3 separate regions of the Homo sapiens genome follow, and regions 2 and 3 are each linked to region 1. Evidence: promoter capture Hi-C in 16 types of primary human blood cells and fetal thymus (Javierre and others, 2016). All regions are on one chromosome and are shown on one strand. The core of a region is centred on a gene start or on the middle of the fragment in contact, and the rest is flanking DNA. Distances in the headings are between cores, read along the strand shown.

Region 1 (4,438 bases), core at 500-2,999:
ACAAAGACACTGAAGCACCCTGTTCATAAGCCCTGATGGGCACTGGAGGGTCTGGCCAGGTTGGGCTGGATTTCAGGGGACCTGATTTGTGTTTCCCTGTGCAGTGCTCGTTTCCATCACCATCTTTAAGGAGGAGGCCTTTTCCATCCACTGGACTCTTACCATCGTGCCTGTTAAGGAACAAAAAGACAACTGCTTAGGCCTGGAGGGTATGTGGAAACCACCAGTTACCTTTGAATATACCTGTGGTGCTCGAACCTCCTTTAGAAAACCCAAGATGCCATTTTAATGATGCTTTGCTCTTGGGTATCAAATTTACTCCTTAATTTACCTCAGGAGATGTTCTAAGAGGAAGCCACAAGATTCCATACCTGCTGTTGTTGTTTTAGAGCTGGTGGATTTTTTTTTTTTTAATCCGCGGAGGAGGACTTGACCCTGTGGGTTCCTAACTTGGATGGCCATGCAGAGCACCCTTAACTTGGAAATCTATATCCTGCTGTTTAAACTTCAAGATGATTCCTATCTGGATTAAAGTCCTCAACCAGCAGGCCGAGGCAAACTCTAAAGAAAAACAAGGTCATGCTGCATTTTTTTTTGGTAAGCACAGGAATCAACAAAGAGATGTTATATAACTTCTATTTATATCCTCCTTGCTCACTATCTGCAGGCAGACAAGAGTCGCTGAGAAGGGATTTAATGAGCTCTCTGGGTTTGCTCACCTTCCTGAGCTGGTAGGAACCAGCTTGTTCTCAAATGCGTCAGTAAAGAATCTGGCTGTGGGTGGGCGGCCAGGGTAGGTGGACTGCGTTGTTGCTATGGTGTTTTTTAATTCCCCTGTCTCTCAAAGATCTCACTCCCCCCTTCCCTGACTCCTTCCTTTTGCCCCCTTCCTTTCTTTCTTTCTTTTTTTTTTTAAATCTGTAAGCTTCCTTGTTTCTCACACCTACTCATGATTCTTGGAGCTGTCTCCGGAAACAGAATATTTTCCCTCTCCTTCCTAAGTGCTCAGCTCCCCCATTGTGTAGCCCCGGGACATCAGAAGTTGTTTTCTAAGGTGTGTTTTTTCCACCCTCCCTTATTTCTTTTCCCATGATTTTTTTATTACCAATCCCTCCATGAGAGAGACCTATCCTAGGAGTCTTCCATCTTGCCTGATAGAAGTTTTCTCTGGCATATTCCAAATTCAGATTGCTCCAAAACCAGGTGAAGTCTGTTGCTAGTTGGACAGTCGGTATGGCCTGGAGGAGAAGGGCTGTTTGTATTTCCATGCATCCTCCTTTGTCCTCTTGCCCTGGGTGAAGCAATGACGTCTCTGTCTCCTCTAGTGCGTTATAAAATAGAACCGCAAGAAAACAAGAGAATGGGTTTACCCCACAATCATAATTCCTGGAGCTTGGGTAACTCCTGTTACCTGAAGGTTGCAGGTTGAAATGACTCAGCTTGCATTTAATTAAAAAAAAAAATGCTGCCCCATCAGATTCTCAGCAGGGACGACGAATGCACCTTGCTGAGAACCCTATGGCTGCCCAGGGAGTGGCCCCCTGCACCCTGGCCGGCCTGGTGGTGGCCACAGAGGCTTCTGAGATGGCTCTGTGTTGTCCATCACATTCCCACCAGAGCAGAGACACTTAGAAGATGTGAGTAGGGAGGTTAGGATGAAAAGTTCTTAGAAAAGAATATGTAGTTCCATGAGGACAGGCTGAAAAAATTTTTAAAAAGCCAAACCCACCTCTGCCTTGCCCAGAAGTTGTGCAATCCTTAATAGCAGTAGCCTGTTTGAATAATCAGAGGCAAGCTGACTTCCCTTTATTAACTTCTGTTAGAGACATCTGCATAAAATATCCCCGGATTCCAGACCAAGTAGGTAATTTTTTTTTCCCCTCTGAGTAACGGGAGGGACTTTCCCTTTGGAAATCTTCCAGCAGAGTTAACTTCATGGTTGAGACTGTTTTCTCATTATAAGGTGCCAACAGCTAGATTCCTGATGCAGGGACAGTGAAGGCGCCTCATGTACACACTTGGATCCCCTGCTTCCCTGAGAACTGACTTGATGTTCACAGTTGCCTCTGGTTCTTCTGCCTTGACCCTCCTTTTCACGGAGAAATCTATGCCCGCTCACATTTCCTGAGGTCCTCTGAGTTCCTCTTTGAAACTGTCAGAGGCTCTCTCAAAGTTTCTACCAATTTCCTATTCCTGGGTTTTAGACTTTTGATCAAGATGGCTCTGACACTGAAGGGGATAGTCCTGTAAACCCTCTGAAGTCTTCAAGCCTCGTTTTTCCCCTGGAATTCAGGACTTTAAAAATATATATATTTTATTGCTCTTCGAGGAGGATGTGTTGCAGTTGCCCTCACCATATGGTATTTGAGAAATATGTTTTTATTAGCCTCCTTGCAACACAAACCCACAAACTGTTGAGCCCAGAGCTTGTAGCTATCAAGTCTGGGGAGGGAGCCAGGTTTGGAGACGGAAGGTGCACAAATGATCATCCCTCCCGGGCTGTAGTTAATCATGCAAGCTGCTGTGTCACTGGGGCCGGGGTAGTTAACAGTTAACTCGATGGATTAAGGATCCTCAGCCAGGCTGAGCCCATCACAGAGTTACGTGCAAAAACCGGATAAGCCCGTAGAGGTGACAACACCACATCAGCTGCCTTTGGCTGGTCTGCGGTGTGCTGCATATTCCCACTTAGCAGGACTTTGAGCTTTCACATGCAGGCTTCTTCTGGCCATAAAGTTATACTTCAGCTGCCATGGATGCAAAGCTTGGCTTGAGTGTTTCGGAATTGCACCTCCTTCAGGATTATTGTTCATTCATTAATATAGTAAATTTTTTAAAAAGAGAGAAGAGGCCTTACTGTGTTGACCAAGCTGGCCTTGAACTCCTGGGCTGAAGAGATCTTTCTGTCTCAGCCTCCGGAGTAGCTAGAACTACTGGCTTGTGTCACCACAGCCGGCTTAATATAGCAGATGTTTACTTACTGAGCACTCCCTGGGTGTCAGGTGCTATACACATTGGCGTCAATACAGTCAGGGATGAGACCAACATAGCCCCTGCCCTCCAGGAGCTTACAGTCTTGTGGGAGACAGAGCTAGGAAATCAGCTCATCATCAGCTAAATCAGAGCTTCAGAGAAGTGTGATGGGGAAGCAAACAGGCGCCACGAAGCGTGGCCAGGGAGGGCTTCTCTGGGGAGATACCGTTCAAGCTGAGACCCAACAGATGCGAAGAGAAGGAGCTGTGTGAAGAGTAGCAGAGGGCAAGAGTATTTCAGAAGAGGGTTGGCTTGTGCTTGGGATGTTGGAGGAGCTGAGTGAAGGAAGCTAACGCGGTCTACCCCATGGTGGTCGGTCAGGGGCAGAGCTGCGGAAAGTATCTGCTCCACCAGGGTGATGGGCTTGTCATCAAGTCGGGGCTGGATGAGGTGATCTCTGTGGTTCCCGCCGATCCCTAGTCGGTGCTTCTAAAGGGCACCAAGTTGGCTTGGGCCTGTCCCCTGCTTGGATATGCGCTGCCGCCGCCAAAGCCCTAATATACAAAGCAGCTTTACCCAGATGAGTGCTGTGTGATTTCACCCTGCCCTGCTCTAACCGCTTGGCCATCTGTACATCTTACTGTCAGCTGCCAGGGATGCTCTCTGTGGCCGTGTGGAAGTTACCTGGTGGGCCAGCACACAGCAAGATGGGGATGCAGGGTGGGGAGACATGAAGAGTCCCAGAGCATTCTGCTGGGGACCAGACTCGGCTGTACCCGAGAGTCAGTTGAGTTGGGAAGGACTAGGGTTGACTGGGGGTGACTGCAGTCTTCATCAAGGAGGCACTTGCTTTGCTTGATGCTTTGCCACCTAAGCCAGTGTCCTTGCCTCCATCCGGCCTGAGTGGATTTATTTTTTTCGGCTTCTATGGCCAAGTGTCCTTGTCACAGTTTGTGTGGAGAGCAGCGAAGGGAACGTGGCTGGTGTAGACACCCTGCCGGTACTGTGCGGGCTCTCACCTGTTTTCTCTCCTGCACTCCTTGCAATAGAATCTCAAGTGGTTCTCCTCCTCTTTCTCCATTGCAGATGAGGGAACTGAGGATGGAAGTTAATAAATGAGCTGTCCAAACCCACCCAGTTCCTAAGTCACCCCTATGCGTATGTTTCTACCTTGCTAAAGATGCAGGATAGAGATCGCTTTCACTGAGCCGTGTGACTGCACAAACACAGAAAATGGGGGGGGGGTGGCAAGGATTATTCTTGGCATCTGTATAAATTTCAAGTTGAATTCCCTGGGAACCTCGGAGCATTGAGGACAGGAAATGTTGGTTGGTGTTGATTCATTGTCCCTCAGGTACACAGAATGGAAATAAGACCTGGGGAGTTGTTTCCAGAGATCGACTCCCCTGACCCTGCAACTCCTGCTTCAGCCCTCGCTCTCCACGATGCAGATTGCCACCCCCAT
Region 2 (4,438 bases), core at 576-3,075, 350 kb after region 1:
ATAAAAATTAGCCGGGCATGGTGGCACATGCCTGTAATTCCAGCTACTCGGGAGGTTGAGGCAGGAGAATCACTCAAACCCAGGAGGCGGAGGTTGCAGTGAGTCGAGATGGTGTCACTGCACTCCAGCCTGGGCAACAGAGTGAGACTCTGTCTCAAAACAACAGTAACAACAACAACAAAAAACCCTAAATTTGATTGGCTCGAAGAATGTGTGAAGGGTTTGACAAGATGATGAATGCCAATAGTGTATCTGCTGGAGTTTCATGTACAAGATGAAGACAGGCAACATCCAAAATTAGTTGAGACATGATTTCCTTGTATGTGGCTTAACAAATGTGGACACTAAAACTCTGCCTTAAAAATAAGAATTGAGGCAGGGTGCGGTGGCTCATGCCTGTAATCCCAGCACCTTGGGAGGCTGAGGCAGGTGGATCACTTGAGGTCAGGAGTTCAAGAACAGCCTGACCAACGTCGTGCAACCCCATCCTTACTAAAAAAATACAAAATTAGCTGGGCGTGGTGGCATGCACCTGTAATCTCAGCTACTCAGGAGGCTGAGGTAGGAGAATCGCTGGAAGTCAGGAGGTGGAGGTTGCAGTGAGCTGGGATCACTCCATTGCACTCCAGCCTGGGCAACAAGAGAGAAACTCTGTCTCAAAAAGAAAGAAAAAAAGAATTGAGGCCAGCCATGGTGGCTCATGCCTGTAATCCCAGCACTTTGGGAGGCCGAGGTGGGCAGATCACTTGAGGCCAGGAGTTGGAGACCAGCCTGACCAACACGGTGAAATCCCCTCTCTACTAAAAATACCAAAATTAGCTGGGTGTGGTGGTGAATGTCTGTAATCCCAGCTACTCAGGAGGCTGAGGAAGGAGAATTGTTTGAACCTGGGAGGCAGAGGTTGCAGTGAGCTGAGCTCATGCCACTCCACTCCAGCCTGGGTGACAGAATGAGAGTCTCAAAAAAAAAAAAAAAGCAGGTATTGATTTTGTCTTATCTAGAGATAAAGGATGGGATGTGGAATAGAGATTCAATTTCCATTTGGTTCATGAAATCTATAAGGCCATAAAACAGGTAAAATGAAAAGCTTCTTCCGTGATTCTGTTTATATGTACCTCAGAAGGAACTTCCAGGTATTACTGTAAGTCCTCAATGTATTGTTTTCACAGTACTAATTTAATGCTTTTATACCTAGATGTTTTACGTTGTTAAGCTATCACTGTTCTCTTGGGAACTAAACACTTTTTTTTTCTCCAAATCTTTGGATTTGACATTGCATGTGACCTTTTATGTAGTAATTGACATGTGCCAGGGCAGTCATGGATTATTAATAGAATTTACCCCCAGCTTCAAGCATCATGAGTAACTCTTGCTTATCCTCATAAAGTCAAATGGTAGGCATTTCCCATCATCTATTTTCATTCAACAAGAGCACCCAATTTATTTAGCTAAGCTGCATCCAAAGAGTAGAATTTTGTTGACCTCAAATAATTTCAAAATGCTTCTTTGTATTTCTGCATATGTTGAATACGTTTTATAATTTAAAAAATCATCTGCTTTGGCCAGGCATGGTGGCTCATGCCTGTAATTCCAGCACTTCAGAGGCCGAGGCAGGTGGGTCACCTGAGGTCAGGAGTTCGAGACCAGCCTGGCCAACATGGCAAAACCCCATCTCTACTAAAAATACAAAAAAAAAAAAAAAAAAAAAAAAAAAGCCAGGCGTGGTGACATGCACCTGTAATCCCAACTATTCGGGAGGCTGAGGCAGGAGAATCACTTCAACTTGGGAGGCGGAGGTTTTGGTGAGCCGAGATAGCACCATCGCACTCCAGCCTGGGTGACAAGAACAAAACTCAATCTAAAAAAAAAAAAATCATCTGTTTTGAAGATAAAATAACCAATCTTGACATTAAAGAGACAAAAATGAAGGCCAGGCACAGTGGGTCACGCCTGTAATCTCAGCACTTTGGGAGGCCGAGGCAGGTGGATCACTTAAGAGTTCAAGACCAGCCTGGCCAACACAGCAAAACCCTGTATCTACTAAAAATACAAAAATTAGCTGGGCATGGTGGCGCGTGCCTGCAATCCCAGCTACTCGGGAGGCTGAGGGAGGAGAATCACTTGAGCCTGGGAGGTGGAGTTTGCAGTGAGCTGAGATGGTGCCACTGCACTCCAGCCTGGGTGACAGAGCAAGACTCTGTCTAAGAAAGAAAGAAAAAGAAAGAAATGAAGAAAGAAAGGAAAGAGAAAGAAAGGGCAAAAATGAAAAATGTGAAGGAGACAAAACTGTAAATCAAGTATTTGGGAGGTGAAAACTGGAAGCTGTCTTGCATTAAATTCAGAAAGAAATTAATATTCACTCTGTAAATATCTTTTAAAAATGGATCAGAACAGCCACACTGAAAACATATTGTTTGGTTATCAGGCAATATTTTTACAAAGAACCTGGTCCCAAGCCTAAAAGTGAGCTTGTTTCTGCAGTAAATATTTTACAATTGCCTCTACACACAGAAATCTCTTAAAAAACAGACATTTCTGAAGTCTTGAGTGCAGGGTCATGCATAGAAGCTTAGACGTTGCAGTAACAAATATGGCCACAGTAGTATTGATAACCAATGTCATTTTTTCCCATCTCCAGAACCTACATGGAGACGAGATCAAACAGATCTGAAGCTACTGCGTATGTGAATGAATACTCCTTTTGCTTCATACCTGAATGCTGTCAACCTAACTAACAGAGAGAGGCTCTCTAAAGGAAAAAAGATATTTGGGAATAGAGCACTGGGATGGAAATATACATACCATAGTAAACTGTGTGTGTATTTAGAGAAGTAAAGGAAGAAAAAGGTTTTTAAAGGAAAGAAATGAAGAGGATTACATAATTGTTTTGAAAGAACCATCCTTGGCTACAAAGATCAATAGCAAGGGTGATGCCAGTCTGAGGTTGGACAGGCAGTTACTGGGCAGATGTCCTTGCAGGAGTATTTTTTGTGTCAGGTTGACATGGCCTTTGTGTGAGATTGTAGTTTTTGTAGAGTCTCTTTTATTATCAGGCATAAAAGAATAAGAACCCTCTCTTCATGGTCTTTACTGGCTCTATTTGTCAGTGTTTTCTTAACATTGCTCTATCACCCAGGCTGGAGTGAAGTGGTGCGATCTCGGCTCACTGCAACCTCCACCTCCCTGGTTCAGCTGATTCTCCTGCTTCAGCCTCCTGAGTAGCTGAGACTACAGGCACCTGCCACCAAACCTGGCTAATTTTTGTATTTTTAGTAGGGATGGGGTTTCACCATGTTGGCCAGGCTAGTCTCAAACTCCTGACCTCAGATGATCTGCCCACCTTGGCCTCCCAAAGTGCTGTAATTACAGGCATGAGCCACTGCACCTGGCTGACACCATTTTGATTCTGACCACTTTCACAATGTCGTCCATCTATTTTGGGTTGTATATCGTGGTTTTTCTTTTTCTATTTTTTAGAGATGGGGTCTTGCCATGTTGCCCAGGCTGGTCTTGAATTCCTGGCCTCAATGATACATCTGCCTCAGCCTCCCAAAATGCTGGGATTATGGGCATGAACCACCTTACCCAGCCAGTTTGTATGTTTATGCTTTGATTCAAAGTAACTTTGCATATTATCGAATTGATTTGCATTAAACACAAATTGTAAATAAAAACAAATAAATGACTGAAAGAGAAAAAAAAAAGAAAAAAAAAGTGACAGCAGGAAGGAAAGAACCAGTGCGCAGAGAGCAGTGGAATCTGGGTGCAGCAATAAGTAAGTGTATTGTCCGTAGAGAAGCTAAACACAGCAATAAACCAATACAAGTTAGTCTGCATTTTTTCCTCCATCCTCTAACCTTGGGTTCTCTTCTCTTTCTCCTTCTCCTCCTCCTCCTCCCTCCTCCCCCTCCTCCCCCCTCCTTCCCCCTCCTTCTGCCTCCTCTTCCTTCTTCCTCCCCCCTGACTTCCTCCCCTCCTCTTCCCCCTAACCTCCTCCTCCCCCCTCCTCCCCCAGTCCTCTTCCTCCTTCGATGGGGGTCTCACTATGTTGACCAGGCTGGTTTTGAACTCCTGGCCTCAAGGATCCTCCCACCTCAGCCTCCTAAAGTGCTAGGATTACAGGCATGAGCTGCTGCACCCAGCCAGGTCTACTTTTTTTTTGAGACAGAGTCTAGCCCTATGGCCCAGTCTGGAGTGCAGTGGTGCGATCTCGACTCACTGCAACCTCTGCCTCCTGGGTTCAAACAATTCTCCTGCTTCAACCTCCCTAGTAGCTGATATTACAGGCACGAGCCACCATGCGATGTTAAATTTTGTATTTTTTTCTTTTTTATTTTTTTTTTGAGACAGAGTCTCGCCCTGTTGTCCAGGCTGGAATGCAATGTCGGCTCACTCCAACCTCCACCTCCCGGGTTCAAGCGATTCTCCTGCCTCAGCC
Region 3 (4,438 bases), core at 498-2,997, 300 kb after region 1:
TGGCTGAAGCTCTGAACGCAAAGGGGAGAGTGATGTGGTGTGGGGCTGCAGAGGTGGCCAGGAGCCAAGGCTGGCCTAATTTCCTCTCACTTTGTGTGTCTCCTCTTTAATTCTTTTTTTTTTTTTTTTTTGAGACAGAGTCTCACTCTATTGCCCAGCTGGAGTGCAGTGGCTCAATCTCAGCTCACTGCAACCTCCTCCTTGGTTCAAGCAACTCTGCCCGTGTAGCTGGAATTACAGGCGTGTGCCACGACGCCCAGCTGATTTTTGTATTTTTAGTAGAGACGGGGTTTCATCAAGTTGGTCAGGCTGGTCTCGAACTCCTGACCTCAAGTAATCCACCCACCTCAGCCTCCCAAAGTGCTGGGATTACAGGTGTGAGCCATGGCACCCATCCTGCTTCTCTTTAATTCTTATTTGTCCAATTCTTAGAGGGGAGGAAGCAGGCCTGCCCTACCTGTCATGGGGCCGCAGGTTTTCATGTCAATGGAGTGCTCCCATGGGAGTGCTCCTGAGCCCTCCTCCCAGGGATTTCTGGTGCCCGGGAGCACTCTGTCTCCTTTGGTCTCTTCTAACCATTGCTGGGGCTGCGTGGCTTTCTCCCAGGGGCTCAGCTGCACTCCCACGTGCTGATCCCAGTGCTTCCTTGCTCAGAGATTTCAGAAGCCTTGGTTCAGTTACTCTGGTGATCTGACTTCCTCTTCTTGCAACTAGCACTGCCTGTGATCTTGTGTCCCAGTAAAAAAACCAAGTCCCCTCTTCCTACCTCAGCTCCAGTAACAGGCTCCCCCTCTTGTTTTCGTTCATAGTAGTGAGAACGGCTACTTGCCATAGGTCCCTTCTTCATCAGTTCATTCAACTAAAGTTGATTGTGTGACTTGGTGTCAAGTACTTACGGGTACAAAGGTGAGCAAAGCTGGAGAGGACCCTGCCCCTGAGCGGCTTACAGGTCACCCATGCTAAGCACTTTCCCTGTGATCTCACTAAAATTTCGCAACAACTGTACTCAATATGGGCTGTTATTTGTGCCCATTTTATAGATGAGGAAGCTGAGTCAAAGAGAGGTTAAACAACGGGCCTGGCTGGGCACAGTGGCTTATGCCCATAATCCCAGCACTTTGGAAGGCCAAGGTGGGCAGATCACTTGAGGTCAGGAGTTTGAGACCAGCCTGGCCAACATGGTGAAACCCTGTCTCTACTAAAAATAGAAAAAAAAATTAGTCAGGCGTGGTGGTGGGCGCCTATAATCCCAGCTACTCAGGAGGCTGAGGCAGGAGAATCTAGTGAACCTGGAAGGTGGAGGCTACAGTGAGCTGAGATTGCACCACTGCAATCCAGCCTGGGTGACAGAGAAAGACTTTGCCTCAAAAAAAGTACAATGGGCCCAACCAAGGTCACACTTCTCGTCAGTGGTGGAGCTAGAATTTGAACCTCTCTGATCCCATCTGATCCCATAGCCCAAGTTCTTTATAAAATTTTAAAATATGTTTTATTTTATTTTTTATAGAGACAGGGTCTTGCCATGTTGCTCAGGCTAGTCTCAAACTCCTGGGCTCAAGCAATCCTCCCACCTTGGCCTTTCAAAGTGCTGGAACTATAGGGCATGAGCCACCATGCCTTGTCCCAAAACTTAAGTTCTTAACGAGTGCTCACTGTCTCCTCCACCCATCTCTTTGTCTGTGAATTTCTGGAAGTATCCTGAGACTGTGATTCTTCTATAACTGGGGCCTTGTCTTGGGAGTGGAACCCTGCTCTATACCCCTTCCTCTTCTGTGGCTACAGCTCACCTTCCTGTTCTTACATACCCTGTTGTGTCCTGCAGGGCCTCTCCGTCCCACTCATCTCTTTGCCTAGTTTCTTCCTTTTACAACCTATTTCCTTAGCACTGTGTGCTCTTTGGAGCTGGAGTTTCACCGGGTGCCTGAGGCTCAGCCTATAGCTCAAAGGGGCAGTTGTTTTTTTCTTTCCTGGAGGTATCTGCAAGTCTTCACAGTCCACTCCACTCGCCTGCTGCTAACCCTTTGATTCCAAGCTGAGTGATAGGGTATGTGGTAGGGATTGTGGTAACCCAAGGAACTATTGAAAGACCTGAAGTTCTCCTACAACTTATGACTTCAAGGAAGTGTTTCTCAAAGAGGGTGGTACCATCCTTAGGGGATGTTTACTTGTGAGGGTACTTTTGGTTGTCACAGGATTGTAGGGGTGTGGCGGTGGAGATGGGGAAGTCTGATGTCCTATTTGCTTTGAGGGCCAGTGAGAAACTGGCTTATGGGGCAAAAACGGACTTGTATCCCCCAAGATTTGTAATGTCCTACCAGACATTGTGCAAGTAAAAAACATTTTTCATTCTCTGAACCTAGATCCTAACTCTTTTTTTTTTCATATAAACACAAACACCAAACTTCCCAGGAATGCTGCTACTGTGGAAATAGAAGGAAGGCCCTCGGACTTCACCATGACTTGTTTGCCATTTTGGAAAATGATGTCATTGACAGCAGCACCACCCTTGGAATCTGAGCCGATAGTGCCATGCAATTGTACCAGTCGTCACTTACAGCTATTTCATTCATGGAGACTTTAGGTATGCCTAACTGACCATTATTTTGAAATAGCAGATTTAAAGTAAAAGGGTCAGCAGTATTTTTTGAATATTGTCTCACTACTCTGAAATTCAGATGCACTTATTTAAAGTAGATGGCAAACATCTGACTACTTCACCATCTTCCTGTACGGTCAGAGTCATGCTTGAAGATTTTCATACTGAAATACATGTTGTTGTACTATAAGTTATTTTCATTTATTTCTCCTTCATATGACAGCCAGGACTTTATATTTATTTTTAGATATTATGTGTATCAGTAGATTTTACTATCTATCAGGTTCAATTCAGGGTAGCAAAGGCAATGCTACAAAAACATTTCTCTTAAGAAATTGGCTGGGTGCAGTGGCTCATGCCTATAATGCCAACAGTTTGGGAGGCAGAGACGGGTGGATCACTGAAGGTCAGGAGTTCGAGACCAGCCTAGCCAACATGGTGAAACTCCGTCTCTACTAAAAATATAAAAATTAGCTGGGCGTGGTGGCGCATGCCTATATTCCCAGCTGAGGCAGGAGAATTGCTTGAACCCAGGAGGCAGAGGTTGCAGTGAGCTGAGATCGCACCACTGCTCTCCAGCCTGGGCAACAGAGTGAGACTCTGTCTCAAAAAAAAAAAAAAAAAAAAAAAAAAAAGAAAGAAAAAAAAAGAAATAGGGACTGTGGCCAGACTAAAAACCAGAGTTTTAAGGAAATGAAATTACTCTTTTTTGCAGACATTTGTGCAGGTAAAAAACTTATTTTTTGAACCTAGATCCTAACTCTTTTTTCAATATAAACACAAACATCAAGCACTACTGTCGCCACTGCACTCCAGCCTGGGCGACAGAGCGAGACTTTGTCTAAAAAACAAACAAACAAACAAAAAAAGAACTTGAAGCCATATTTTTTTTGGTGCTGGAATTTATACACGAAAATACAGGACGATCCCATCAAAGCTTGCTTGGCAATCCATGTGGAAGCATGGAGACCAAATCAGAGGCATTGCCAGTGTCCAGGCAGGAGAGGATGGCAGCTTGGATGACGGAGGTGCTGTGGAGATGGGGAGAAATAAGTGGATTTAAGATGTCTTGTGGAGGTAGAACCAATAGGATTTGCTGATGGAGTGATGCATGCGTGTGTGTGCGCGCATGTGTGTGTGTGTGTCTGTGTTACAATGGGATCACTAAAGCGTCACACCTAGGATTCATGCCTGAGAAACTATGTGGAGGGTAATCCTATTTATAGAAATACGGAAGATGGCAAAGAACAAATTTGGCAGGCAGAGGGGTCAGGGAAGTGAGAGTTCCTTTTTGGTTAAATTCCTTCTGAAAAGCATATTTGACACTTAAGTGGGGTGTCAAGTAGGCAGTTGTAGTTCCAGGGATGAGTTTAGTCTGGAGGTGTATTAATATATTTCAAAGTAATCAACATATAGGTATATTTAAAGCCGTGGGAGCAGACATTGGATGGTGGCTGTATTTTCCAGTTTTTAAACACCTTTATTGCAAAGGTTTTTGAGCGATGAGAAAAAGAACTTAAAGAAAGGAAAGGGAGAGAAAGAATGCACCAGTCTATATTACACATAGTCTACGTCTTGCAACAAAACAAGTTTTTGGTGTCTGCAAGCAGCTCTTAGCAGAGCCTTGAGTACATGTCTATGAGATACGGGGCATGCACACCACCTGCTGGTCATTTCTTCGCATTTTCTAACACACCCTTCAGGGCAGAAAGAAGTTTCTAGTTTGTCAAAAGTATGAACTGGGCGGGGCACTGTGTGGCTCATGCCTGTAATCCCAGAACTTTGGGAGGCCGAGGCAGGGGGAATCACTTGAGCCCAGTAGTTCTAGATCAGCCTGGGCAA

The links. Contacts are between HindIII fragments. The CHiCAGO score rates a contact against its expected background, and 5 or more counts as called.
Region 2: a fragment that was not itself captured here is called in contact with the fragment with the promoter of EGOT in region 1 in 15 of 17 cell types (activated CD4 T cells, M2 macrophages, M1 macrophages and 12 more); the score reaches 21.0 in activated CD4 T cells.
Region 3: a fragment that was not itself captured here is called in contact with the fragment with the promoter of EGOT in region 1 in 17 of 17 cell types (activated CD4 T cells, M0 macrophages, M1 macrophages and 14 more); the score reaches 32.7 in activated CD4 T cells.

The regions. Positions count from the first base shown.
Region 1 is chr3:4,749,841-4,754,278 of GRCh38, forward strand. It overlaps EGOT (eosinophil granule ontogeny transcript), which reads right to left and starts at 1,750. Exons shown (of 2, transcript NR_004428.1): 1 at 1,106-1,750; 2 at 1-170. The region is part of intron 44 of ITPR1 (inositol 1,4,5-trisphosphate receptor type 1); the gene reads left to right. RefSeq lists an enhancer at 4,438. The HindIII fragment of the contact is 1,839 bases long and covers 924-2,762 here.
Region 2 is chr3:5,100,146-5,104,583 of GRCh38, forward strand. No RefSeq gene overlaps it. Among named protein-coding and RNA genes, the nearest start is that of ARL8B, 20 kb to the right of the region's middle. The HindIII fragment of the contact is 1,481 bases long and covers 1,086-2,566 here.
Region 3 is chr3:5,053,717-5,058,154 of GRCh38, forward strand. No RefSeq gene overlaps it. Among named protein-coding and RNA genes, the nearest start is that of ARL8B, 66 kb to the right of the region's middle. RefSeq lists an enhancer at 1,671-1,730. The HindIII fragment of the contact is 3,568 bases long and covers 1-3,531 here.